Regions from separate parts of the Homo sapiens genome. Here all the other regions are linked to region 1. Evidence: promoter capture Hi-C in 16 types of primary human blood cells and fetal thymus (Javierre and others, 2016). All regions are on one chromosome and are shown on one strand. The core of a region is centred on a gene start or on the middle of the fragment in contact, and the rest is flanking DNA. Distances in the headings are between cores, read along the strand shown.

Region 1 (3,513 bases), core at 364-2,863:
ATGCCCTATTTGGGGACAGTAAGACCTATCATGTTCCATCTTGGTATTTTTCCCTCTTTTTATCTCAATGACTAGCATAGAGCTGGCACTGTTGAACTGGGCTTTTTTTTTTTTTTTTTTTTTGAAACAGGGTCTTGCTCTGTTACCCAGGCTGGAGTGCAGTGGTGCGATCACGGCTCACTGCAGCTTTGATCTTCCCGGGCTCAGGCGATTCTCACACCTTAGCCTCCGAGTAGCTGGGACTACAGGCCTGGGCCACCATGCTGGCCTGGGCTTCATTTATTTGTAGGGGAGGGCTCAACTAAGTGAAAACTAAGTTTCTTTTTAACTCTATTTATTTTGTGAACATGACTGATTACATAGTATCACAAGAGCCTCTAAAAGCAGCTTTTATCATATTTGTGCTACCTCACACACACCTCAGGGATCTGTAACCACCAGTATGCGTAAGTGGCTTGCTATGGTGGTAATCAGAATGGGCTGTGTGTCTTTTGAAAATTCACCCCCAATCCCCATGAATGTGCACCTTTCTGTCTCCCCCGTTGGCAGAGCTGTAGTAATGAGGTTGAATTCCAAGGCCAAATTTGTAAACATTCTTTGAGACTTAACATTTATACAGGGCTTTCCCATTTTAGGAATGACAGGTGTACATTTCACTTTACTTCAAAGAAGGTAACTGATACAGAAAGATTAAAGAGACTTGCCCAAGATGTCATTGTAAGTTTGGGACAGAACCAAAGTAGAATCTAGGACATGTAATACCTGAAGGGCTATAACCCTCGCCACCCCCATTTATCTTTAAAGGTTGTTTGTTTATGGCAGTTAAGGCTTATATTATATTGGCTTCCTCTCTCCCCCAGTTTGGTATGAGTGACAACCCAATGCGTGTTTTAGGACCATTGCTCTGGTTAACGGAGAAGCAGCAGCTAACAGGTGGATGAGGAGAGACCGCTTAGGAAGGCCTTGCCGGGGGCAGGGGTCCCGATAGCAGATGACGGTGGCTTATTTGGGGTGGTAAGAGTGTTCACGGTGATAAAGGGACATATTTGAAATGAGCTTCAAAGGTAGAACTGATAGGCTTCCATGATGGGGGTCAAGGATGGACCCCGGGTTGCTGGCATGGTTAACTGGATGGAGAATATCTTTGATGGAACAGATTTGGGGTGGGCGGTATTTCCAAAAGTTTAAAAAGACTAGGGAGGAAAACACCCAACCAAAACTCCGCCCCACTGTCACCTGGGTCCAGTCTCGGGACAAATTTCAAGATCTCCCTTTTCGCAACTGTTTTCAGAAAATAAAAGGACTAACTGTGGCTGTCAAGTGCTATGAATAAAAAGAGCAAAGTAGCAGGGCAAAGCCGAGGCCCAGGCAGGCCCCACGCTGCCCGCTGCGGACCACCTTCAGGGTCCAGTGGCGCCCGGTCCCGAGTCCAGGAGCCTTTTCGTCGCGTCTCACACTCACCTTGCTGCTTAGATCCTCCTTGTGTGGGGTCGAATTGTCGGTGGGGATCAGCACAGAGCTGTCCTCTGGTCGCGTCCCTCGGCTGGGCATTTCCACCGAGCGCAAGACACGCGGGATGGCTCAGCCCTGAAGGAGCCTACGGCATTAGCCACAGCGCATGCGCGCTTCCAGCCGCGCTCACCCTTTCTTTTCCCGCGAGTCTTACCAATAGCGTCTGCGCGCTCACTTGAACGCATGCGCAGGCCGGGTCTGGCCTGGGGAGGAGTTTCGCGCCTGCGCATGGCTGCTTAGGGAGCGAGTAAACAGTCTGGTTGCAAAATCTGAGGTTCCTGTACTGGCCTCTTGTGGTTGAGATGCAGAAACGCTCAGGTGGTTTCTTCATGACCTCTTATCTAGTATACTACGAGTTCTGTGCGCCCTCCAGTGGTAAATATGAAGAATAGTCGTGCAATAGAAACAGCGCTTAATATGATATTTATTATCTAGGGAAAGATGAAGCTAAGGAACAGATTTAAGAGATACCGTGTTGGCAAAAGAACTGTACAGACTTGGTAAAGTTTTGGTTAACTCGTGGTTAGGGTTGCCGGATAAAATACAGTATGAACTTCAGATGAATTAATAGTTTTTTAGTGCATCTATGTCCCGTGCAATATTTGCAATATCTCATTTCTGTGGAAAAAATGACTAAAACTTGGAAATAGGCAAAAGAGATTTATTTACTGGATGCTCTTTCAGTGCTGCTCTGGACTTGACTTTATTATATTGACTGGGCTGTTTTACAATTCTGTAGGGGCAAAGGTTAACTTTGGTAGAGATTTTGGTTTGGTAGAGATGCAAATAATTTTTTGTTGTACCAGATACCAACACAGGTTATGATTTATTGTTCTGCAACACATTAGTCAGTTTTGTATCTAACCCTGCATTCTGTCCTAACATTTCTTTATTAACATATGCCTAGCTTCTCTAATATTCTGTATTGGTTTTAAAGTCATCGGTTCCCTCACTAACCAATGAGTTGAATAAAAGTTTGACATGTATATATTTTATGTTCACATTAGAGACATGATTTTAGGTTTTTGATAATTATACTATATTATTGGAAATCTTAAGTTTCCACAGAGATGCCCAACTGGATTTATGTGATGAATCAAACTATCTGGCGAAAGAAATGTATACATCATGGGTTGTTTAAGGCCAGGCATGTTTTTTATTTGCTCTTACAGAAAACCCAAGTGGTTATATATTTTTCCTTTATAATTGATTTTTAAAGATTGTGTTTTCATTTCTGATTTGTACATTCCTGATAAGTTATTCAGGTATAACTTATACATTACTGATACATTGATAGCAGCAATGATTGGGAGTTTGGTTTTGTGGTCTAACCATTTGGTGGTATCTGTTGGATGATGGACGTCTAGTCTCATTGGTAGAGAGGTAGATAGGTGCAGTGGCTCAAACCTGTAATCGCAACCACTCGGGGCTGAGGTGGGAGGATTACTTGAGGCCAGGGGTTCAAATAAATAAATAAGAGAGGTGACAGAGAAGCGAGTTTGTAAGTCTTTTTGTTTATTGTTTGTGAGCTCAAATTAATTAATTACTTTTGTGTCCACTGAGAGGGAAGGAGGACAGCTATTTGAGATGTGGGCTAGTAAGGTTTTGTTTGTTTGTTTTAACATAAAGGCCGCTCAAGCAGAAGAACTGGTGAATTTTTGTGGTTTTGTGTTTACTTTTGACCTGAGATTGAAGTTGTAAGACAGAAGCAATAACCTCTTTATGTGTCTGTGTGTCTGTAACTTAGAACAGGCTTTATGTCTCCCTTTGTAAATATGAAATATTTCCCTACTTCTGGAGTGTATTAATAAATCCCACTATAGTATCTCTAATTAAAGGGCCTCTGTTCTGACTAGTTTATAGAGAAAAATAAGCACTGGTATAATCCCAATATTTTTAAAAGCCCAGAATTTCCAATACTTTAAATGTGCCAGATTTTTAAGGAAAAAAGTTCTTACAAAACTGCTAGCTTAGAAACATTTTAAGAATCCAAGTTTAGGA
Region 2 (3,513 bases), core at 265-2,764, 870 kb before region 1:
GGTTAAGTGGAATTTCATGATTGTCCCCCAGTGACAGAACTATCACCTCCTAACATTCTTGTTATCTCCGGAAAAATATTTATTGCTTATAGAGAAAAATGTGGTGTTTCAATATAGCTTCTTTACAGATATTTACTAAGGATCTGTGATATAAATAGCACTTTAAATATTTAGTACATTGCTGCCTGCCCTTTTGTTTCTCCACCAGATATATCTGTAGAAAATACATTCATCATTCAACAACCCACCTGTTTATTTTAGCTACTTTCCATAGTGCCATCCAAAATTAAACCAAATCAAAATGAATGTGGTTAGGTACAAAAGCTGTCTTGCAAGAAGCAAGTGCACACCGCACCTGGGAATACAGGAAAGAATTGGATCAGGGCTCTGCTGTTTCTCTGAAGACAGGCTTCACTCAAGTAATGATGGTTTATTTTTAAAAACCATCCCTCTGAAGAGTCCCTTACAAGGAAATTTCTTAACTTTTTAAAAGCCATACATGGTGTACACATGGTGCCAAGTGCTTAAGGGCAGTTGGTTAAACCTTTCTTTGAGGGCAAGGAAAGCCTAGTCCATCCTACTCAGACTTTTAGGAAAAATGAGGCTTATCTATTTTTAACAGGATAATTTCTGTTACTTTGGGTTCTCTAAGATATCTCACCAAAAGACCAGAATTAGAGAAGACTGTCCTAGTTAAGTATGGAATATTGAGTCAAATTAATGGGTTCCAGGTCCTGTGGAGGGAATGTTCTTTAAAATATATGTATATCTCCTAATTATCAGTATTAAGATCATTCAGGTTATATGTTAATTTAAAAATATATCTATTACATTAAGAAACTTTTTTTTAACATAAGGTAATTTTAAGAGAACCTTGTCATGTTGGTGAAGGAACATTTTACGAGCCCCTCTGTACTCTGAAATGCCGTGTCCGAGATTAGACATACAAGTCAGTGTTACTTAAGCGGCCAAATTTCCAATTTGTTATTGCTTGTTACCAAATGAAAGTAAAAAGATAAACAGAAAGGTAAAATAAAGAAACTGGCTTTTATGTATTTTATTCACAAAAAGGGCGTTTGCCGAAGGACCTTCCCATTCACGGGCTGTCACTCACAGGTGCTCGGAGAATTCAGCCTCCAAATCCGCAGGTCACAGGTCAGCCAAGTTTTAAGAAACACTCCGGGTTAGCGACTCTTCCTCTCTGCAACTCCCACCCCTGCGCCGAGGGCAGCGGGACACGGCCGGGCGGTCCCCAGGGGAAGATGAGGCCCTGGACGCCCCGCGTGCGCTGGAGGCCCGGAGGCCAAGGCCGAGGCCGAGGCCGAGGCCGGGAGCATGCCAGCGGGGTCGCGCCACCGAAAGCTCCTCCGGCCTGGGCCCGCCGTGCCCCGAGGCCGCGGGCGGAGGCTGGAGCAACGAGCCCAACTCTCCCTCCGCCCCGGGGAGGCGGGGTCTCCGCCTTTCCCGCGTTCGGGCCTCACCGCCCCCTCCGCCTTCTCTGAGCCCCCGCGCCACTTCCGCTCCTCGCAGCGGAGCCGGTCCCCTAGGGCTCGGGTCGCACGGAGCTGACCCCTAACGAAATGGGGCCGCGCCAAGGGCGGTGGTGGCTGCTGCTCTGGCTGCCGCCCCTGGCCACACTGCCCGTGCGCGGGGAGGCGGCGGCGGCAGCGTTATCAGGTAACCCGGGACCGGCGGCGGCGGCGCGCGCGTGCGTGCTCGCTCCCCGGCTTCGCGGCTGCCCTGAGGGCGCGCTCTTTGGCCCGGGCGGCACCGCGAGGCCCACTGGGGCGGGCGCTCCCTTTTCTCGCTTTGGGGTCTCCCGGGCAGGCCCCGCCCGCCCTTCCTGTCTTACTGGGCTTCCGTAGTCTCTCGCCTGGCAGTTGGACATTTTGTAATTTTAGAATTAGAAGCAACCGCGCGATCCAGTCGCCCAATTCCCTCGTTTTACAGAAGCAACCGAAACTCAGAGAGGTTTTGATTTGCCCAGGGTCACACAGCTTGTCACTGGCACAGCTGACCCTAGTCTCCAGACTTTCAGCACACGGCCTTTTGTACAGTACATCAATGCGTGTTGAAATCCTTGTTATTTCACTATCTCGCATTCCTTTGGTCTCAAGACTAGAGAAGGTAACAGCTTCAGCTTCAGAATCGGAGCGAAAATTCTTCTGCCCCTGACTGTTGTGACCTTGAGCGAGTAAACATAACGGTCCCACGTGAGCGGCAGGTAATGAGGCCTCACAAGGTTCTTGTGGTGTTCGTGTGCACAATGCCTGGCACACAGGAAGCAAGAACTGGTAGCGGCTGCTAGCTGTAGGGGCTCGCCACGGAGTGGGCTTAAGATGCTGGCACACTGGGGAAGGATCTGGGAAGGACACCTGGGGAAGTCAGAAACCTAGAGTTCCAACTCCAGACCTGCCGCTAACTTACCATGAGCTTCACATTTCTGTTTCTTTTTTTTTTTCCCCTCATAAAATCTTTTAAAAGATTTCCTGGGTGCACTGTCTACCAACTTCCCTTCCTTGCTTTGGCTACCCTGGTTTCAAGGGAGGCTGCCAAGTGTATTCTTTTAGCTGGGCATGGCCCTCCCTCCGGTTATACCGCGGTTTTTTATCTAAGGATGAATGAGAGACTGGATGTTGATGAGGTCATTATCAGATTCTGCCACAGCTCCCAACTGAGGGAATCTTGCAGTGAGTTATATGTTGGGGAAGTGTTGGATTCCAGTTTTCATTGAAGAGAAATTTTTTGAGTGTTCAGTATGTGCTAGGCAGTGTTATAAGTGCTTTAACTGCAGTATCTATCATATTTAATACCCATAGAAGCCCTATGCGGGAAAGCACCATTTTATACCCATTTTACAGATGAGAAAACGAAGGTTTGGTAGTAAGAAATACAACAATTTTATGCTGGTGAAAAAATAAAACACAAATCTGTCTAAGCAGGAAGGTTTCTGGGCATGGCAACAGCGAGAAAATTAGAAGTAGCCTTAGACCAGCACCCAGCACCTTGGGTTCTAGACCACTCATTCCTTCAGCCACAACTTGTGGTATAACCTTGGTCCAGGCACAGAGTCTTTATGGACCGTAGTTTTCTCTTGAGTAAAATGAAGATGTTTTTACTGAAGAGTTTCCAGTATTTTCCTCACCTCAGTGAACCTGGTGTTTTTAAAGTTTTTATGTTACCGCATTTAGTATAATAGTAACAGCCTGCTTCTCTGCTTTGTTAATCAAAGACACACATAAATACTTATTGGAGCTTCTGTTCTGCCTGAGACATGCAGGATGCCCACTGACTTGATAAAACTAGTCCACAGCTAAGAAGAATGGCAACTTTTGTAGCCTTAGAGGGATGCCTGCCATTCCGGTAGGCTTTCCAATACGGACTGTGAAGCGCCCAGCATCTGGTAGTGTGCCAGTGACACTGTTGGCAGCCCTGGATTAGACTAGGCTTAAGAACCATAGCTGCTCTTTAAAAGTCTATGGTTTCTTGAGGACCCTGAGAGGAAACAGCTGG
Region 3 (3,513 bases), core at 702-3,201, 850 kb before region 1:
CTGTGCTAGGTGTTCTAATGACATTAGTCTTTGTCTTGCTGTTGGTGAAAAGATTCATTCCGAAGGTAGGCATACTATGTGAAAATGAGTAAAAAATGGAAATCATGATCTTACAGACATGAAAAATTAATCAAAATTAATTCACATTATGATAGGTTCTAATTTAAATTATGTTTCTTCATTATGTAAACTGGCTCTAAAATGTATCTTTTTCTGGAGTTCCTGATTTTATTTATTACTATATGTAGGCTTAGCTGAGTATTAAGTTTTCATGATACTTTTTTTGAGACCCCTTTGCTTTCTCGGTAATGTGTTTTTCTTGAGTGATAGGAAGCTATTTCTATATTGAGTGAAAATTTCTATTATCTTTATAGAGCTGGGAATCTCATGATGCTGAACCATTGGGGCCTTGAATAACAGCACTGCTACATCTGGGAATTTCTTTATTATTATTAGTTCCCCAACCCACCTTCTTTTTTTTTTTTTTTTTTTTTGAGACACAGTCTTGCTCTGTTGCCCAGGCTGGAATTTAGTGACATGATCTTGGCTCACTGCAACCTCTGCCTCCTGGGTTCAAGTGATCCTCCCGCCTCAGCCTGCCCAGTAGCTGGGACTACAGGCACACACCACCATGCCCAGCTAATTTTTGTATTTTTTGTAGAGACAGGATTTCACCATGTTGCCCAGGCTGGTCTTGAACTCCTGAGCTCCAGCGATCTGCCTGCCTTGGCCTCCCAAAGAGCTGCAAATACAGGCGTGAGCCACCGTGCCCGGCTACACCTTCAATAAAATAACACACTGAACTTAGTTGAGGATAAATAATTCATGTTGGTAGTGTTGCAGTTACACTGATTAAAGTTTGCAACAGCAGCATTATTTTAAGATAAATTTACTCTTTATAACAGTGCTTATAACTCCAACTTCAGTGTACATGCAAGCTAGATGGGAATCTTGTTGAAATGCAGGTTCTGATTTAGCAGTCTGCAGTGGGGCCTAGGACTCTGCCATCCCAGCAAGCTCCATGTGATGTCGGTGTTGCTGATTTGTGGACCACACCTTAAGACCCTAGGGAGTTTCTTAAATTGACTTCAAATCAGTTTGATGTAGGAGTTTCTAATACAAAAGGTTTATTTGTTTGCTTTTATTTTTATGAGAGTGAATGAACCAAAAAATGTGTCATTTATTTTCTTCCACACACAGTATAGCACCTTTTGGGCTCTAATGGTTGGTTGTTGGTTTGCCTCAGTTTATATTGTATGCCAGTTGATGGAAGATCTGAAGTGGCTGTGGTATGAAAACAGGATATATGTATTAGGTAGGTAAATAGAAAAACAATATGCTCTGTGATTGGTAAAACTGAGATGTACAACTAGAGGCCTTCTTTTGATAGATGTTTCTCTCCAACATCTAAATTTTCATTTTGAACTAACGAAAGGTGCTACTAAAAATAATATTTTGTTTATCTTATTCCCATTGTTGTTGATTTCAGTTCATTTAGATCTCATTTTAGATGATTTCCCTATGACATGTTTCTTAGTTTTCTGTAGTAATGATCAAAAGAGGAAAAAAAAGTGTTTGTCCCTTTTGAATGCACATGCTTCTGAATTGTGGTTAAGCTCTAACCACATCTAACTGGTAATGTAAAAGCTTCTCTGAAAAGTGGCTGTTTCTTTCTTTCCCGTAAGTATTCATTAGGAAAGGTGAGAAATCCTAACTATAAATTACTAATGAAAACTTGCCTTTTCAGAAACACAGAGGCTAAGAAACCATTTATTTTCCTTGTTTTACATTACAAAATAAATGTTTTTATTGTTTATTTTAACTAGAAAATAATGGACAATGAGAGAATCAATTTTCTCCTAACCTTTAGCACCAAATTTCTCACATAAGTTCACTTCCCTCAAAACAAAAGCAATTAAGTTGTTTTACTTGAAAATTGTATATTTTTAGCTCGTTCTTCTTTTTGTGCTACTTTTAAATTACAGATACCATGGTATGCTCCCCTGAATACTGCACTATTCCTCTCTGAAAAACAAGAGGCTTTTCCTATATAATCAGTTAATTATTATCTGAAAAATAATTACATAAAATCATCTATTACCCAGGCCATGAAAAAATTTCCCATTCTTGATGGCTTATATAAACTAGGATATGGTCCAGAACCACATTTAGTATCTGTTTTGTCCTGTAAATTGCTTTTAATCCGTAGCAGTTCTTTTTTCATCATAGTGATATGCTAAAGAAACCAAGCTTGTCCTGTAGAATCTCCACCTTCTAGATTTATCTGATGACCCCTTTATGATAGAATTTAACATATTCTTCTCTTCTGCGTATTTTCTGTAAACTGGAAATTAGACTTCAAGGCTTGGTTAGATATAAATTAAACACTTAAGATAGAATACCTAAGAGGTGATGGGCACTTCACCTTGGATCATACCCAGAGACACAGAATAGCTTATAGTCTCACCATCGTAATGATGAGACTGAACATTGGATTCAGAGGGTGACTCCCTCCACTGTAAAATTACCTTTTCCTTTCATGACAAGAAGGTAAAAATAAAAAATAGGGTTTGTAGCCAATGGTGACATACAACTGTGACTTCTTCCTGACCAAAGTAACCATGATAACATTTTAGTCCAGCCAGGGTGCTGGACTAAAACACAGACATACTTATGTATCATCATAATAATGAGTGTACATCCCAAATTATTGCGAAAGTCAGCCTAGTATCTCATATGGAAGGAATAACACCCTATGTGCATTTTTCAACCTTACTTTATGGGGTAAAAAACACAAAAATTAAGGTTCTCTAATAGTTTTTACCTTTAAGTCAAGGCTCTGCCAGGTTTTTCACATAATGTCTCAAATTCAAATTTATATTATTTTACCTCTTCCACTTTTCCAGGCTATGTCTTGATAGTTGGATTTTTCAGCTTTGTTGTTTGTTACAAGCATGGGCCCCTTGCAGACGACAGGAGCAGAAGTCTTCTGATGTGGATGCTGCGACTCCTCTCCCTGGTTCTGGTCTATGCTGGTGTGGCCGTGCCTCAGTTTGCCTATGCAGCCATAATCCTCCTCATGTCCTCCTGGAGTCTGCACTACCCACTGAGAGCATGCAGTTATATGAGGTGGTATGTATCATTTTTTTCCCCCAGCAAATTTGACATTTTGAGCTCTAGTTTTATTATTTGGGAGAGTGTTTGCACACATCATGTTAATCTCATAATTACATTTGATCTGGAGATTTCATTCTGAGCAAGATTGGGGGTGTAGGGGTAGAGAGCTCCAAGCATCTGATCCCATCTTCATGGCTAGTCTTCATTAATCGTTGAGAGCTGTACCACCAATTACCAGGTAATTAGAGCTCACTCAGAATTCACTAGAGTCAATGGCAGAAGTACTTGGACTCTGGGTTACCTAAAATATCTTCTTTTATTCAACATTTTCTTTAATTAGAGTCAAAGACTGCTTTAGTGGTATCAGCTGTGCTTATGAGATACGAATTAGGAAAC
Region 4 (3,513 bases), core at 461-2,960, 750 kb before region 1:
TAGAGTCAAAAGAAGTCCCAGTTGCATCCCCCTGGCTTTGATAAATCAGTGCCTCTTTAAGCCTCCTTTTCCATACAAACTTAAGTCAATTAACTCCCAGAAGGATTCTAGAGCTTAAATGAAATAAAGTATGAGAAAGCATTCTGTTAATCTAAAAGCAACATATGAACATTTGGTGTTGCTGGTAGTTGTAGTTTTATTCCAGATATTTCATTAAAACTCTGGGTCTTATTTTGCAATTATGCCAAAAGCACTTTTCCCAGAATTATTTGGCACCACCCTTGAACTAGGCTAGTATTTCATCCATCTGTGCTCATGAATTTATGTTCATGTCTGTTTTCATGTCTACAGCCTGATGGGGGCCTGTGAGGCACTGGTTCACTGGAGAACACACTATTGTAATATGGACTGGAATGATAATTCATTATCTCCAGGAAAGAAATAACTATTCACTTAAAATAAAATATTCTGTAGAAACATTTTACTTATATTTGTAACATCATAAATCTGAAAGAAAGGACCTGAAATCCTCTCTAACATTTCCTTTCAACTTGCTAACAGGGTGAAAAAGGAACAAATTATTTTGATCTCTTAAGGGTTGGAGGAAATAGCTTATAACCATAAAGATGACTTTAGTAATAAAGACCAACTAGATTTTCACTTTCACTTTGTGGAAGAAAATAATCAAATGTCAATTAAAAATTTATAATTTAGGTTCCTCAGACCTTATCAGCCATCATGAAGCAGATTCCTACTTATTAGTTTTAGACTCCTGATTAAATATTGTGCCAATATAGCATAATTTATAATATAAATTTGAAGCAGGCCCCAGAACTTCATTTCCTTCTACCTTTCAAATAAGCTTCCTGTCTTAGAACAAGCCCAGCGGGAGGAAAAAGTAACAGTTCACATTACAGAGCTATTCTAACACTATTAGACACTGAGGAAGTTAAGAGGGTTAAATAAAGCACAATCTATACACGAGACAAGGCAGTTTAAACAGAAATGTATGGGTGCTTCTTTCTCAGACCTTTTATGAGTTTACAATTGAGACCAGAATATAGATCTCAAGGTTTATAATACATTTTCCTATAGCCCTGGACTATCATCAGTTATTTTTACTTACATCCCCTAAATGTGCTATAGTCTAAAAGAATAATTTATATCCTTAGTACCTTCCCATATATGTAATCTAAAATTGTTTTATTTTGCTGTTAGGGTTCTGATAACTTGAGAATTACCATAAGCTATCAATTCTAATGATATAATTAGTTTCAGAAAAAGGTTTATTACTTAGCCCATAAAATAAAAAAGTGGCTGAGCACAGTGGCTCACATCCGTAATCCCAGCACTTTGGGAGACAGAGGCGGGAGGATCACTTGAAGCCAGGAGTTTAAGACCAGCATGGGCAACAAAGCAAGATCCCATGTCTACAATTTTTTTTTAATGAGTCAGGCATGGTGGTTCATACCTGTAGTTCTAGCTATTCAGGAGGCCAAGGCAGGAGAATCACTTGAGCCCAGGGGTTCAAGGCTGCAGTGAGCTAGGATCACGCCACTGCACTCCGGCCTGGGTAACTGAGAGAGATCCTGTCTGTAAATAAATAAAAATAAAAAAGATAGATACTTTAACATACATACCATACCAATAATTTTTAAAATGGAAATATTCAATGCTGGTGAGTATGAGAATTGACAGGCATTGTCATTCACTGAGAGTAAAAACATAAACTTTCTGAAAAGCAAAGACTTAAATGTAAAGATTTTTATTGCAACACTTTTCACAACAATCACAACTGAAACAAAGTAAGTGATCAATAATAAGGACAGTTAAATAAGTTATGGTGAAAATAGGTAAATAAGCTATAGAGAAAAATAAAATCTTATATCCATATCATGGGAAAATAGAACTTAACTACATGGTAAAATGCATCATGTTAAATGAAAGAGCAGGACACAAACCTCTCGATATAGTACAGTTTATATTTGTAAATCTATGTAGCTCAAATAAAATGTATTTTAGAAAAAGACTCGATAAAAATGACACCAAAGTGTTATCAGGGATTATCTCTGAGTAGTAAAATTAGGACTTATTTAATTTTTTTCTTATACTTGGCTGGATTTTTAAAAAATCATTATTTATCACTTTAAAAATACATATTTAAAAAGGAATTATTTTAAATATAAAACATTTGAGTGACAATTAGGATGTCCTTGTTCCCGGAGTTCCTGAAAAATTATAGAGTTATTAAATTGAGGTCTGATCATTCATCTAATGCCTTGTGCTTCCCAGTATACGGAATTGAAAGGGACTGTCACAAGGACTTTGAGACACTCTTAAAAGATATGCACACCTTTTACAGGGAGCCTCATTACACAGAAAATAAAATTGAAATGTGTCATGTTTACTCATTCAAAAGAATCATAATAAAGTCTTTTATTTAAACTCCCTTATAAATGTGAATTGGGGCATATTTGTTCATTAGTTAAACACAATTGCACAGGCATGATTTTGAAATAGAATTAAGAAAGGCACTCCATAATAGCTAAAGAAGCTTGCCTTTGCTGGATTGGAGCACGTTAATCAAGAACACAGCGCTTCTTTATTTTATGTTCCAGGACACATGTGCAGGACATGTGGGTTTGTTACATAGGCAAACGTGTGCCATGGTGGTTTGCAGCACCTACCAACCCATCATCTAGGTATTAAGCCCCACATGCATTAGTTATTTATCCTGATGCTCTCCCTCCCCCTGCCACCCAACCCCCCAGACAGGCCCCAGGAACACAGTACTTCTTAAAAGTCATAGGCAGCATGCATGTCACTTTGTATGATTCTGCTTTATGTGTTTGGTGTGGTGCCTTCCTCCTTTGCTCTACCTTGAGCCAAGTACCTTGAGGCCAAGTATGTTCTACCTTAACTTTGTCCCTAAAAGTGCCCTGAACAGTTAAGAATTCCCAGCGTGACTCACAGGGACCCACTCCTGCCACTGCTCCAGTGCTCAGTTTCTCCTGGAATCCTGGGCCCTGACTGCCATGTCTCCTCTTCACCCCACAGTATAGCAGGGCTCATGGTACATTGGTTTATTGGAGCTCAGAGAGAGCAGGCCCCGTGCAGAGTGGAGTGCACCTGCCTGTGGAACAAGGTCTCTCTACATAACCAACACAGACTGCTAACTACCAGTCCAGGCTCGCCACTCACTTTCCTTTGGCACGGTTAACCCACACATCGGGCTTGTTCAGGCAGCACCAGTTCCTCCTTTTTATCCTCCTCAAAGCCACACACCAGAGCTCACTCTGCCCACTGCTGATTCATAGTGTCCCTGTCTTTCCCTGTCTTTCCCCCATCCCACTCTTGGTCTCAGATCAAAATGCTTCCAAACATTTCCTCAGAGTCATTCAGAGCTGGCCTTTCCTGTTTTGTACTTGCCAAATGTTTCCTGAATTGGTCTCCCATTCTAAAACATGCCCCACAACAAATGTCAAAGAAAGACATCTCTGCCCCCCTTAATTC
Region 5 (3,513 bases), core at 417-2,916, 730 kb before region 1:
AAATAGATAACATAATAGAAATATGCACATGTCTATTAAAAAATTGAATATGCAGTTTAAAACTCTACCACAAAGAAAACTCTAAGCCCAGAAGGTTTTATTAAATTCTACCAAACATTTAATAAATAATACCACTTCTGTATAAATTCTTCCAGAAAATTATTGAAAAGGAAACTCTTCCCAACTTAATTTATGAAGTTTATGAATTTAATGAATTTATGAATTCATTACCCTGATCTCAAAACCAAAGATAGTATGAGAAAATCTGTCAGGGCCAATAGCTCTCACACGGATGTAAAAATTCTTAATCAAATTATAGCAAAGTTGAATCCAGCAATATATTTAAAGGCATAACACATCATGATCCACTGGGTTTATCTCATGAATGGAAGCTTAAAAAATCAATGTAATTTTCCATATTAACAAAACAAAAAGGTAATATCATATTATCATCTCAATACTATAGAACAAACATTTGATAAAAATCCAGTGTCTCTTCAAAATTGAACTAGAGATTCTATTTCATGTGATGAGGCAAAAATAAATAGCATCTAGATGAGGAGAAACTAAAACTTTATTCATAGATAATGTGTTTATGTGGCAAATCCTCAACAATCCACAAACAAGTCTGTAGAACAAATAGACCTAATAAGTGAGAGTATCAAGTTTGCAAGATACAGAATTCAATTTAAAAATCAAGTGTACTTTTCTATATAGACAAAAAACAACACGAATTTAAATTTATAAAACATATTTTACATGGTATCGAAAATACCTGTACACTAAAAACTATAGTTGAAAGAAATTAAAGAAAACCTAAATAAATGGCAGTGATTCATCATATTACCCGATTAGAAGCCTAAATGTTATTTAAAATGCCATTTCTTTTTTTTTTTTGAGACGGAGTCTTGCTGTGTCAACCAGGCTGGAGCACAGTGGCACAATCTCGGCTCACTGTAACCTCCACCTCCCAGGTTCGAATGATTCTTCTGCCTCAACCTCCTGAGTAGTTGGGACTACAGGCGCATGCCACCAAGCCTGGCTAATTTTTGTATTTTTAGTAGAGACGGGGTTTCACCATATTGGCCAGGCTAGTCTCGAACTCCTAACCTTGTGATCCGCCCACCTCGGCCTCCCAAAGTACTGGGATTATAGGCTTGCCATTTCTTTTCCAATTTATAGATTAAACACAATCCCAATCAAAATCCCAGCAAGCTTATTTGTAGAGATTGACAAACTGATGCTAAAATGTACATAGAAATTCAAAGGGTCAGCTAGGTGTGGTGGCTTACACTTGTGATCCCAGCACTTTACGAGGCTGAGGCAGGAGGACTGCTGAAGTCCAGGAGTTTGAGACCAGCCTGGGCAACATAGGGAGACCCTGTCTCCACAAAAAACTTTAAAAATTAGCTGGGCATGGTAGCATGCACCTGTAGTTCCAGCTACTCTGGAAACTGAGGTAGGAAGATTGCTTGAACCTGGGAGGTTGAGGCTGCAGTGAGCTGTGATCGCTATACTGCACTCCAGCCTGGGTGACGAGCGAGATCCTAACAAAAAAAAGAAAAAAGGAATTCAAATGTTCTAGAATATTCAAAGAAACTTTGAAAAAGGTCAAAGTTGGAGGACATACACTGCCCAAATTCAAAACTTATTATAACCTACAGTAATCAAGATACTGTAATATTACTATAAAGACAATCAAAGAGATCAATGGAATAGAACAGGGAGTCCAGATATCAGACTTACAAATATATATGGTCAATTGATTTTCAACAGAGCTACCAACGCAATTCAATAGAGAAAGATAATGTTTTCAACATAAGTGCTGGGACAAATGGATATTCTTATTTAAAAAGTAAAGCTCAATTTTACCTCATGCCATATATGAAAATTAACTGAGAGCTGGAGCAGTGACATGTGCCTGTAATCTCAGCTACCTGGGAGGCTGAGCTGGGAGGATTGCTTGAGCCCTGTAATTTGAGACCAGCCTGGGCAACATAGCAAGACCCCTATCTAAAAAATTGTGCAAAAAAATTATTGACCTAAATATAATAGCTGAAACCATCAGATTCCCAGAAGAAAACACAGGGGAAAACTTGTTACCTTTGTCAAGCTTTCTTAAATAGGATATAAAAACACAAAAGTATGAAAAGAAAATAATCAATACATTGGACTTCATCAGCATTAAGAATGTTTGCTTTTCAAAATACAGTGTTATAAAAATGAAAAGGCAAGGCACAAAAAGGGAGAAATTAGTTTTAAACATATATCCAACAAATGACTTTTATGTAGAATATGTAAGAACTCTCACAACTCAACAGTAATAAGACAAACAACAAATTTTATTCTTTTGTTTAAAAATGAACAAAATTTTTTCAAATTCACATGAAGACGTATATGATTGTACATAGCAACTTTATTTGTAATAGCCAAAAACTGGGAACAAGTCAAATGTCCATCAACATGTGAATGGATAAGCAAATTGTATATTCATACAGTAGAATACTACTTAGCAATAAAAAGACACTTTACCAAAGAAAACATATTGATGGCAAATAAGCACATGAAAAGTTGTTCATTATCAGTGGTCATTAGAGCAGTATTTTAAACTGGGCACAATTTTGCCTCTACATGCCAGATACATTTGGCAGTGTCTGGAGATACATTTGGCAGTGTCCCCTCCCCACAAAGAATTGTTTGGTCCAAAATGTCAATAGTGATAAAGGTAAGAAACCTACATTAGGGAAACATGTCAAAACCACAGTGAGATACCGGTACATATGAAGAAGAATAGGTGAATAAAGAAATAGGTAAATAAAAAGCAGCATACCAAGTGATGAAGAGAATGTGGAACAAATGGAACCTCAGACAAAGCTGGTGATTCTACCACTTTGGAAAATAATTTGGCAGTTTCTTGAAAAGTTAATCATAAATCTACCCCAGCTATTCCACTCCCAGGTATATCCCCAAGAGAAATGAAGGCATATGTTCACATGAAGACATGTATGAATGTACATAGCAACTTTATTTGTAATAGCCAAAAACTAGAAACAAGCCAAATGTCCACCAACATGTGAATGGATAAGCAAATTGTATATTCATACAGTATAATACTCAGAAATAAAAAGAACAAGCTACTGATGAGTGCATTAACGAATAAACAAACACACACAGATGAATATAAAAATAGTTATCATCAGTGGAGAAAGCCAGACACCACTACATCCCAAAAAAGAGTCCGGTATAATTCCATTTATAAAACTCTAGAAAATGCAAACTCATCTGTAGGAACAGAAAACAGATCAGTGGTTCCCCAGGAATGGAGGTCAGGGTAGAGTAGGGAGGGGAAAGAGAGAAAAATTACGAAGGGGCATGAGGAAATTTTGGAGCATCATAGATATGTTCCTTACCTTGATTGTGGTGATTGTTTCAGGGGTAAAACTTACCAAGTTGTATACTTTATGTGCAGTTTATGGTATGTCAACTGTAATTCAGTACAGCTGGTGGGGGGCT
Region 6 (3,513 bases), core at 756-3,255, 700 kb before region 1:
CCGCCTCCCGGGTTCACGCCATTCTCCTGCCTCAGCCTCCTGAGTATCTGGGACTACAGGCGCCCGCCACCACGCCCGGCTAATTTTTTTGTATTTTTTAAGTAGAGACGGGGTTTCACCGTGTTAGCCAGGATGGACTCAATTTCCTGACCTTGTGATCCACCCGCCCTGGCCTCCCAAAGTGCTGGGATTACAGGCGTGAGCCACCGCGCCCGGCCGACCTACTGAATTTTAACCAAGATCCTGAGGCGATTACATGACCAGTAAAGTGTGGGAAGCACAATATACATCTATTACAGTGATGACTGAATCAGCAAGAAACAGTCAAATTTAGTTAAATTAACTTAATTCAAAGTAAATTAGACTGTTAAAGTTGGGGAATAATAAAGCTAATAATGGCTACTTACTGCACACCTACTCTGGGCTCAGTAAAACTTATGGGATCATTCAAAGGAAGAAATTATATCACTCCTTTGCTTGAAATTTGCCAGAGACCTCCCATCCCACTGAGAGGGAAATCTAAATCCCTTCCTATGATCTGGTCTTGCCTGCAATATCATCATCACCATCTCTCCTCTTCCTCTCTCCACATTTCTCTGCCCTTTTAACAAACAGGAAAATGGATGTGGCTATGCCTTTTGCCTCTATAATTCTAGACAAATGATGTATTAAAATAGCTGTTTGTGAAGTAGTCAAGCGTAGATTTTTAAATGTAAGATTGCTTATAAGTCAGGCATAAGTGTTATTTTTAACCTTCAGAGGTTTAAAAGATTTCTTTCCCGTATTACTAACATAGAACTAACTGCATCTTAATATGTGGTGCATGAAGGAGACTAAAAAATTTTCAGAGTTAATCTAGAAACTCATTTTTTCTTTGTAATTGTGTTTCTAGATATATAAGTATTTGTCACATGATCAGTATTTAATGTTCACTATTTTATTCTTCTACTATTAAATCCAAACAAACTAAAAAAAAAAATTGTTTCTCTGAAAGAAATCAGATTACCTGAGGTCAGGAGTTTGAGACCAGCCTGGCCAACATGGTGAAATCCCATCTCTAACTAAAAATACAAAAATTAGCCAGGTGTGGTGGCACATGCTTGTAATCCCAGCCACTCAGGAGGATGAGGCAGGAGAATGGCTTGAATCCAGGAGGTGGAGGTTGCAGTGAACCGAGATTGTGCCACTGCACTCCAGCCTGGGCAACAGAGCAACTCTGTCTCAAAAACAAACAAACAAACCAAAAAACTTAGTACTAAAAGGAATCTTTTAGTTAATCCAAGTACTTCACAGAGGTTCTGAGACTTAGAGAAATGATGAGTTAATTTGCTCAAGATCACACAGTATTTCAGAACCATGGCCACCTCTGTACTTTTAGCCAAGGTCCATGGACTTCCCCCAAGAGCGCACAGATGGGTTTAAACCTAGGATCTGAAATTGTCTGCATAATTTTGTAGATGGGCATCTTTGGGGCATTAATAACTTACATTAGATTCCCAAAGGGCCATGCAATTTTCCCAAAGCTTGAGTTATAAGTTACTTAAATGCCACAGATTTATATCTAAAATGATACATGGACTTGCTAAATTATTCTAAGATACCACATCTCTCTACTTAAGTTAAATGGCATGATATTCTGAGGTAGAAATTGAATGAACCTTAACATTCAAATATATTATGTTGTTTACAGTAAGTGGCTTCCAAACATTTAGTTCATGGTATAAACTAGAGACTAGAATACCATATGATAATTAAATTACAAAGACACATTAAGATTCTTATACTTACCCCAGTCATTAGTAAACTCATTGGATTCTTCTCCAAAAATATTTTTTTCCAAGCCTGGAAACTGAATGATTCAGAGTATGACGAAAAACAAAACAAAAACCCACACATATGCTCAATTCTGAACAGATTTCAATTTTATATTTCAAATTAAATAGCACAATCAGAACTGAAATTCCAAAATTTCCAATTCTAGAAACCAATCCAAGTATAAAAAAACGAAGTCAACTTGGCTCAGTGCTTAATTTTCTAATATTTTTCTGTTCTTTTGCCCCTCTAGAAAGTCAAAATCATGGTAGATGCCTGGTTCCCTTATGTCCTGTTTAGTTTGCAAAAGTACTTCTAGAAACTTCATCCTTCTACTTAAGGGCCATAGAATTCGAATATTTGCAAAGGACATGTTTTAACTATTGCTCTTAAACAACATCCCAGTAGCTTATACAAGGCAATTTCGTTGATCAAGTATCTAAAAGCACGACTTGAGACTGGATAGAAGGAATTAGAGGATAGATAACATTCGATTTTGTTTTTATTTTCAGGCGTTTGTTTCCCCACTCTCAGATGTATCATCATTCAGGCTAGGAAGGGGATATGAAAAAAGAGAAAGATTTTATTGGCCAATAATTTAAGTATCAATATATAGAGTGAATAAATGGAGTCAAGTAAGAATCTTCTGTCATCTCTGTATGATCACGAAGCTTTCTGATGCATTTTGCTTCTGATCCTCTCTGTAATAAAGATAATTTTTCTCAAAATATGTCCTAAATTTTGATACACATATTCTCAGGGAACAAAAGCAAGGACGTGCTTCAAATATTTGAACTCGGTCATTTGCAGATGACCAATAGCTTTAATAATGCCCACAACACTTATTATTCATATTATTTTGTGGGACAGTACAAATCAACAAGGGCTGGCAACCAGCCCATTCATCAAGGGCTGAAACTCAGTCTCCCAAGCCTGCTTAAAGACCAGTTCTGAGATTACAAGACAAAAGCCTCATGAAATAAAGATATTTTATACAGCTAAAATGGAATATCATTTATTTTAGCTCATGAATAAACAACTGCCTGAAATTTTTATAATGCTTTGAGGCAAATATTAGCCCATAAAAATTAATGTTGATACATTTTTAATCCAGTTGCTCAACCATCCCTTGCACCCAACTATATTGATAAGTAAAAAAGAAAAATAAATTTGCTTCATTTAGTTTATCGGAGCAAGATTTTATATGACATGAAAAAGTATAGTTTGTAGAGATTTCATGATGGCATTTCATCTCTTCGCCTGTGGTCAAGATTTCACTGAAACGATTCTAAATGATTCTCAATATTTTGAAAATTTCATAGAAATTATTTCAATATTTTATAATGCTTTCTGCCATAAAGTTCTATTCTCCCAAATGTAATGGTTAGATTATCATATAAAAGGCAATATAATATTGCAAAGAACACAGACTCTGGAGCCAGTCTGCCTGTGTTCAAAAACTGGCCCTACCATTTACTTGATGTGCAACCTTAGGCAAGTTACTTAACCTCTCTGTGCCTCCCTTTTTTCACCCATTGCATTGTAATAGTAGTTCTTCATCAAATTGTTATAAGAGCTAAATAAGTTAATATATTTAACGACGACTTTAGAATAGTGGCTGGCACATAGCATTTATAAGTGCTGCTAGTATTATTATTTCTACTTATTAATACGGTTTCTCTAGTCAGCTCCAGAAAGAGT
Region 7 (3,513 bases), core at 321-2,820, 610 kb before region 1:
CAATAAATTTTTTCTTACAATAATGTAAAAGAATTTTGTTAAGAATTTGTACAGTCCAAAAGATGGCGCCACAGAGCTTGGTTCCCACGGCTTTCCTTTTGTTTTTGTTATAGAAGGTTTTATTTTTTCCAGTATAGAAAATGACAGTTTTATTTTCTCTTGTTACCCACCATGAAGAGTAGCACAGTATCTTTAATATTTTAGAAATTCAAACATTTACTCAGTATTTTGAAATACAGTAAAATAAAAATGAATGTTACTGAGTGGTTCTCCACATGGTAGATCAGAATTATGTAAAATTATTCCAGTGTTTCTGAAAGAGAAACAATTTTTTTATGAATAGATATTTAAATGACTAAATTTATTCTGTTTCTGGGGAAGACAAATTTTTTTATCTCTTTTGCCATTTATATAAAACATCTGGGGTTGCATTTTCTTAAGTTAATATGAGGGGACGTCAAAAAGTTTGTGGAAAAATGGAATTAATTAAGATAGAAATAAAAATAACTTTTTTTCTCAACATAAGCTCCGTCAAATTTAAGGTACTTCTTTTGTCAGCAGTGATACCAGTCATTTAGTCCATCCCTAAATAATTGAGGGTCCTGGGAATTTAACTATGCAAATGCAGTGTTTTTTATATTGGTAACTGAAGAAAAATGGGTGCCATCTACAGATTTTTAAAGACTGGTGTGTTAGTCTGTTTGGGTTCCTATAGAAGAATACCTGAGGCTGGGTATTTTATTTGGCTCACAGTTCTGCAGGGTGTGCAAGAACCATGGCACTAGCATCTGCTTCTGGTGAGGGCTTCAGGTAACTTCCAATTATAGCAGAAGGGGAAGGAGAGCTGGCATATCACATAGCGAGAGAGGGAGTGAGAAAGAGAGAAGGTGCTACATTCTTTTAAACAGCCAGCTTTTGTATGAACTGATAGAGCGAGAACTTATTCGTTACTGTGGGGATGTACCAAGCCATTCATGAGGGATCTGCCCCCATGACCACACCTTCCATTTGGCCCCAACTCTAATGTTGGAGAATAAATTTCAACATGAGATTTGGAGGGGACAGATATCCAATCTATATCAATTAGGAAACATAAAGGAGTAAGAAGGAGCCAAATCAGGTCTATAAGGTGGATGCCTAATAATTTCCCATTGAAACTCTCAAAATTGCCCTTGTTTGATGAGCGGAGTAAGTAGGGGCATTTACATAGTGTATGAGGAGTCTCTGATGAAACTTTGGGCCTTTTTCCGCTAAAGCTTTGGCTAACTTTTCATGATAGTTCTTTGGTGTTCCAGAAAGTCAACCAGCAACCTGCCTTGAGCGTCCCAAAGAATTGTTGCCAACCTTTGCTCTTGACCAGTCTGCTTGTGCTTTGACTGGACCACTTCTCTCTCTTGGTAGCCATTGTGGTTGTGCTTTATCTTCAGGATCATACTGGTAAAGCCATGTTTCATCTCCTGTTACAGTTCTTCAAAGAAATGCTTCAGGATCTTGATCTCACTTACTTAAAATTTCCATTGAAAGCTCTGTTCTTGTCTGCAGCAGATCTGGATGCAATGGTTTTGGCACTCATCGGATGGAAAGTTTGCTCAGCTTTAATTTTTCAGTCAGAATTGTGTAAACTGAACCAATTATAAAAGAATTGTGGCATTGGCTATTGTTCATGCCATTAACTCTCAATCATCTTCAATTAGGGCATGAACAAGATAAATTTTTTCCTCACAAATTGATGTGGATGGTCTGCCACTGTGGGCATCTTGAACATTGTCTCATGCCTTCTTTAAAAGAGTTATCTATTTGTAAACTGTTGATATCTTTGAGGCATTTTCCTCACAAACTTTTCACAACTCACCAGTGATTTTACTTTTCTTCTACACAAGCTTTACCATAAATTTGATATTTGTTCTTGCTTCAATTTTAGCGTAATTCATATTGCTCTGATAGGGGCCCTTTCAGACTGCTGTCCTATCCCTCTTAGGACCTCAAGCTAGATCCTGTTCTGGTATGTTATGACAAATTAGTAAGAGTTGATTTTCATACAAAAAAATTTGAAGTTCTTGCATAGTTTTTTCATAATAATGCATATTCCGTGAACTTTTTGAAGATTCCTTGAATATAACAATTACAGATTTGTTTAAATATAAAATTAAGTAGATATAGAACAGAGGACAATCCTTAAATTTTTGTTTCATACATGTAGTACCACTCCTGTTTCCCTCCCCAACTGAATTGGATTTAAAGAACATTTTAGGTTCTTCTCTCCTCCTCTCTCTCCCTCCTAGTCTTCCTTTTTTTCCACCACCTCTTGCATTTTCGAATAGAAATGAAGTTGGTTCCCCAACCTAACTCAAAATATGGCACAGTAAGGTATTGTTTTTGTGTTTCTCAAAATGCTCTTAAGATGCTACTAGTGAGAGGGTTTTTTGATTATAGGAGACCACAATATGCCACCCTAAATATGCCACTTTGGCATAATGATTATTTTGAGCAGATTATTTTGAGAACCAGCAGATACAGGATCATCTCTGAAAACAGCACAAGTTACCTTTTTGTAAGAGAAATGTGTACCTAGAAAGGAAATCTCTATTTGTAAGAGTGTCTCCCTTTCTGGGGAAGAGAAGGATGACCAAATTGCAAGAGACTCCTATCAACAGAGATAACAACATAAATCTGCAAAACAATCGTTTCTCTTATTTACCATGCTTTTTGTGGTAACCTTCCTTCACATCCTTTCGAGTTGAAGTTGCTATGTAAGCTGGAGTTTTAGGCTCCCTCTTGGAGAGTTTTTATTTCTCCCTGGATAATCTTCTGTGTATACATGAGGTATACATGTTAATAAACTGTTTTTCTCTTGTTGGTCTGTCTTGTTGGAGCAGTCCCAGCTAAGAACTCAGAAAGGTAAAGGGAAAATTCCCCCACCACACACAATGAATAATAGAAAATTAAGTTTTAAAGTGTATTTTAGAAAGAGCATGTTGTCATGACTAGAGAAGTGGGAATTGGAATGGAATAAAAATAATGAGCGTATACATTACCCAAATGACTTTATTGCAGTACAAACTACCCACATGAAAGTTGACTAGTGCTCTGTTAAATGGGAACTACTGAATCAGATTATGTTTATCCACTGATTAATGTCATTGAAGACATGTTCTTATTTTCATAAAAAGAATGAACAGTGCTCAAAGATTGAATTATGTTAGTATATTGCAAAGACTTGTTAGACATAATGGGTACCTTTTTTCAGTTTTAAAAGGTGTTCTGTTTCTTGCTATTAGTGACAGTTGAATAGAAGACATTTTAAGAAACCATTTTTTAATTAAATAATAAAGTGCCGGGTTTTTCATAACAACATTTATTTTACTTAGTATGGAACCTGAGAGGCCGGGCGCAGTGGCACATGCCTGTAATCCCAGCGCTTTGGGAGGCCAGCGTGGGAGAGTCACTTGAGACCAGAAGTTCAAGTCCAGCCTAGGCAATATAGCGAGACTCTGTGTCTCCAAAAAATTAACC

The links. The method cuts DNA at HindIII sites, captures the fragments that hold promoters and counts their contacts. A CHiCAGO score of 5 or more calls a contact.
Region 2: the fragment with the promoter of NEMP2 here is called in contact with the fragment with the promoter of ASNSD1 in region 1 in 2 of 17 cell types (fetal thymus and total B cells); the score reaches 7.5 in fetal thymus.
Region 3: a fragment that was not itself captured here is called in contact with the fragment with the promoter of ASNSD1 in region 1 in 2 of 17 cell types (naive CD4 T cells and fetal thymus); the score reaches 7.4 in naive CD4 T cells.
Region 4: a fragment that was not itself captured here is called in contact with the fragment with the promoter of ASNSD1 in region 1 in 3 of 17 cell types (total B cells, total CD8 T cells and fetal thymus); the score reaches 6.4 in total B cells.
Region 5: a contact is called between a fragment that was not itself captured here and the fragment with the promoter of ASNSD1 in region 1, in 1 of 17 cell types (neutrophils). The highest score is 5.3, in neutrophils.
Region 6: a fragment that was not itself captured here is called in contact with the fragment with the promoter of ASNSD1 in region 1 in 6 of 17 cell types (neutrophils, naive B cells, total CD8 T cells and 3 more); the score reaches 10.2 in neutrophils.
Region 7: a fragment that was not itself captured here is called in contact with the fragment with the promoter of ASNSD1 in region 1 in 2 of 17 cell types (neutrophils and M0 macrophages); the score reaches 6.9 in neutrophils.

What each region holds. Positions count from the first base shown.
Region 1 is chr2:189,659,559-189,663,071 of GRCh38, reverse strand. It overlaps ASNSD1 (asparagine synthetase domain containing 1), which reads right to left and starts at 1,613. Exons shown (of 6, transcript NM_019048.4): 1 at 1,462-1,613. ASDURF (ASNSD1 upstream open reading frame) reads right to left here and starts at 1,613. Exons shown (of 4, transcript NM_001353493.2): 1 at 1,462-1,613. The coding sequence starts at 1,551. RefSeq lists an enhancer at 1,366-1,555. The HindIII fragment of the contact is 6,437 bases long and covers 1-3,513 here.
Region 2 is chr2:190,532,723-190,536,235 of GRCh38, reverse strand. NEMP2 (nuclear envelope integral membrane protein 2) reads left to right here and starts at 1,514. Exons shown (of 9, transcript NM_001142645.2): 1 at 1,514-1,677. The coding sequence starts at 1,581. NEMP2-DT (NEMP2 divergent transcript) reads right to left here and starts at 1,398. Exons shown (of 5, transcript NR_183903.1): 1 at 1,115-1,398. RefSeq lists a silencer at 1,201-1,850. The HindIII fragment of the contact is 6,238 bases long and covers 1-3,513 here.
Region 3 is chr2:190,514,072-190,517,584 of GRCh38, reverse strand. It overlaps NEMP2 (nuclear envelope integral membrane protein 2), which reads left to right. Exons shown (of 9, transcript NM_001142645.2): 5 at 1-65; 6 at 1,201-1,315; 7 at 2,907-3,132. Among named protein-coding and RNA genes, the nearest start is that of NEMP2, 19 kb to the left of the region's middle. The HindIII fragment of the contact is 603 bases long and covers 1,650-2,252 here.
Region 4 is chr2:190,413,372-190,416,884 of GRCh38, reverse strand. MFSD6 (major facilitator superfamily domain containing 6) reads right to left here. Exons shown (of 8, transcript NM_017694.4): 2 at 1,472-1,593. Among named protein-coding and RNA genes, the nearest start is that of MFSD6, 6.8 kb to the right of the region's middle. The HindIII fragment of the contact is 1,692 bases long and covers 865-2,556 here.
Region 5 is chr2:190,391,506-190,395,018 of GRCh38, reverse strand. No RefSeq gene overlaps it. Among named protein-coding and RNA genes, the nearest start is that of MFSD6, 15 kb to the left of the region's middle. The HindIII fragment of the contact is 898 bases long and covers 1,218-2,115 here.
Region 6 is chr2:190,360,963-190,364,475 of GRCh38, reverse strand. It overlaps INPP1 (inositol polyphosphate-1-phosphatase), which reads right to left. Exons shown (of 7, transcript NM_001128928.2): 4 at 1,789-1,849. Among named protein-coding and RNA genes, the nearest start is that of INPP1, 19 kb to the right of the region's middle. The HindIII fragment of the contact is 960 bases long and covers 1,526-2,485 here.
Region 7 is chr2:190,273,971-190,277,483 of GRCh38, reverse strand. The region is part of intron 6 of HIBCH (3-hydroxyisobutyryl-CoA hydrolase); the gene reads left to right. Among named protein-coding and RNA genes, the nearest start is that of HIBCH, 44 kb to the left of the region's middle. The HindIII fragment of the contact is 624 bases long and covers 1,259-1,882 here.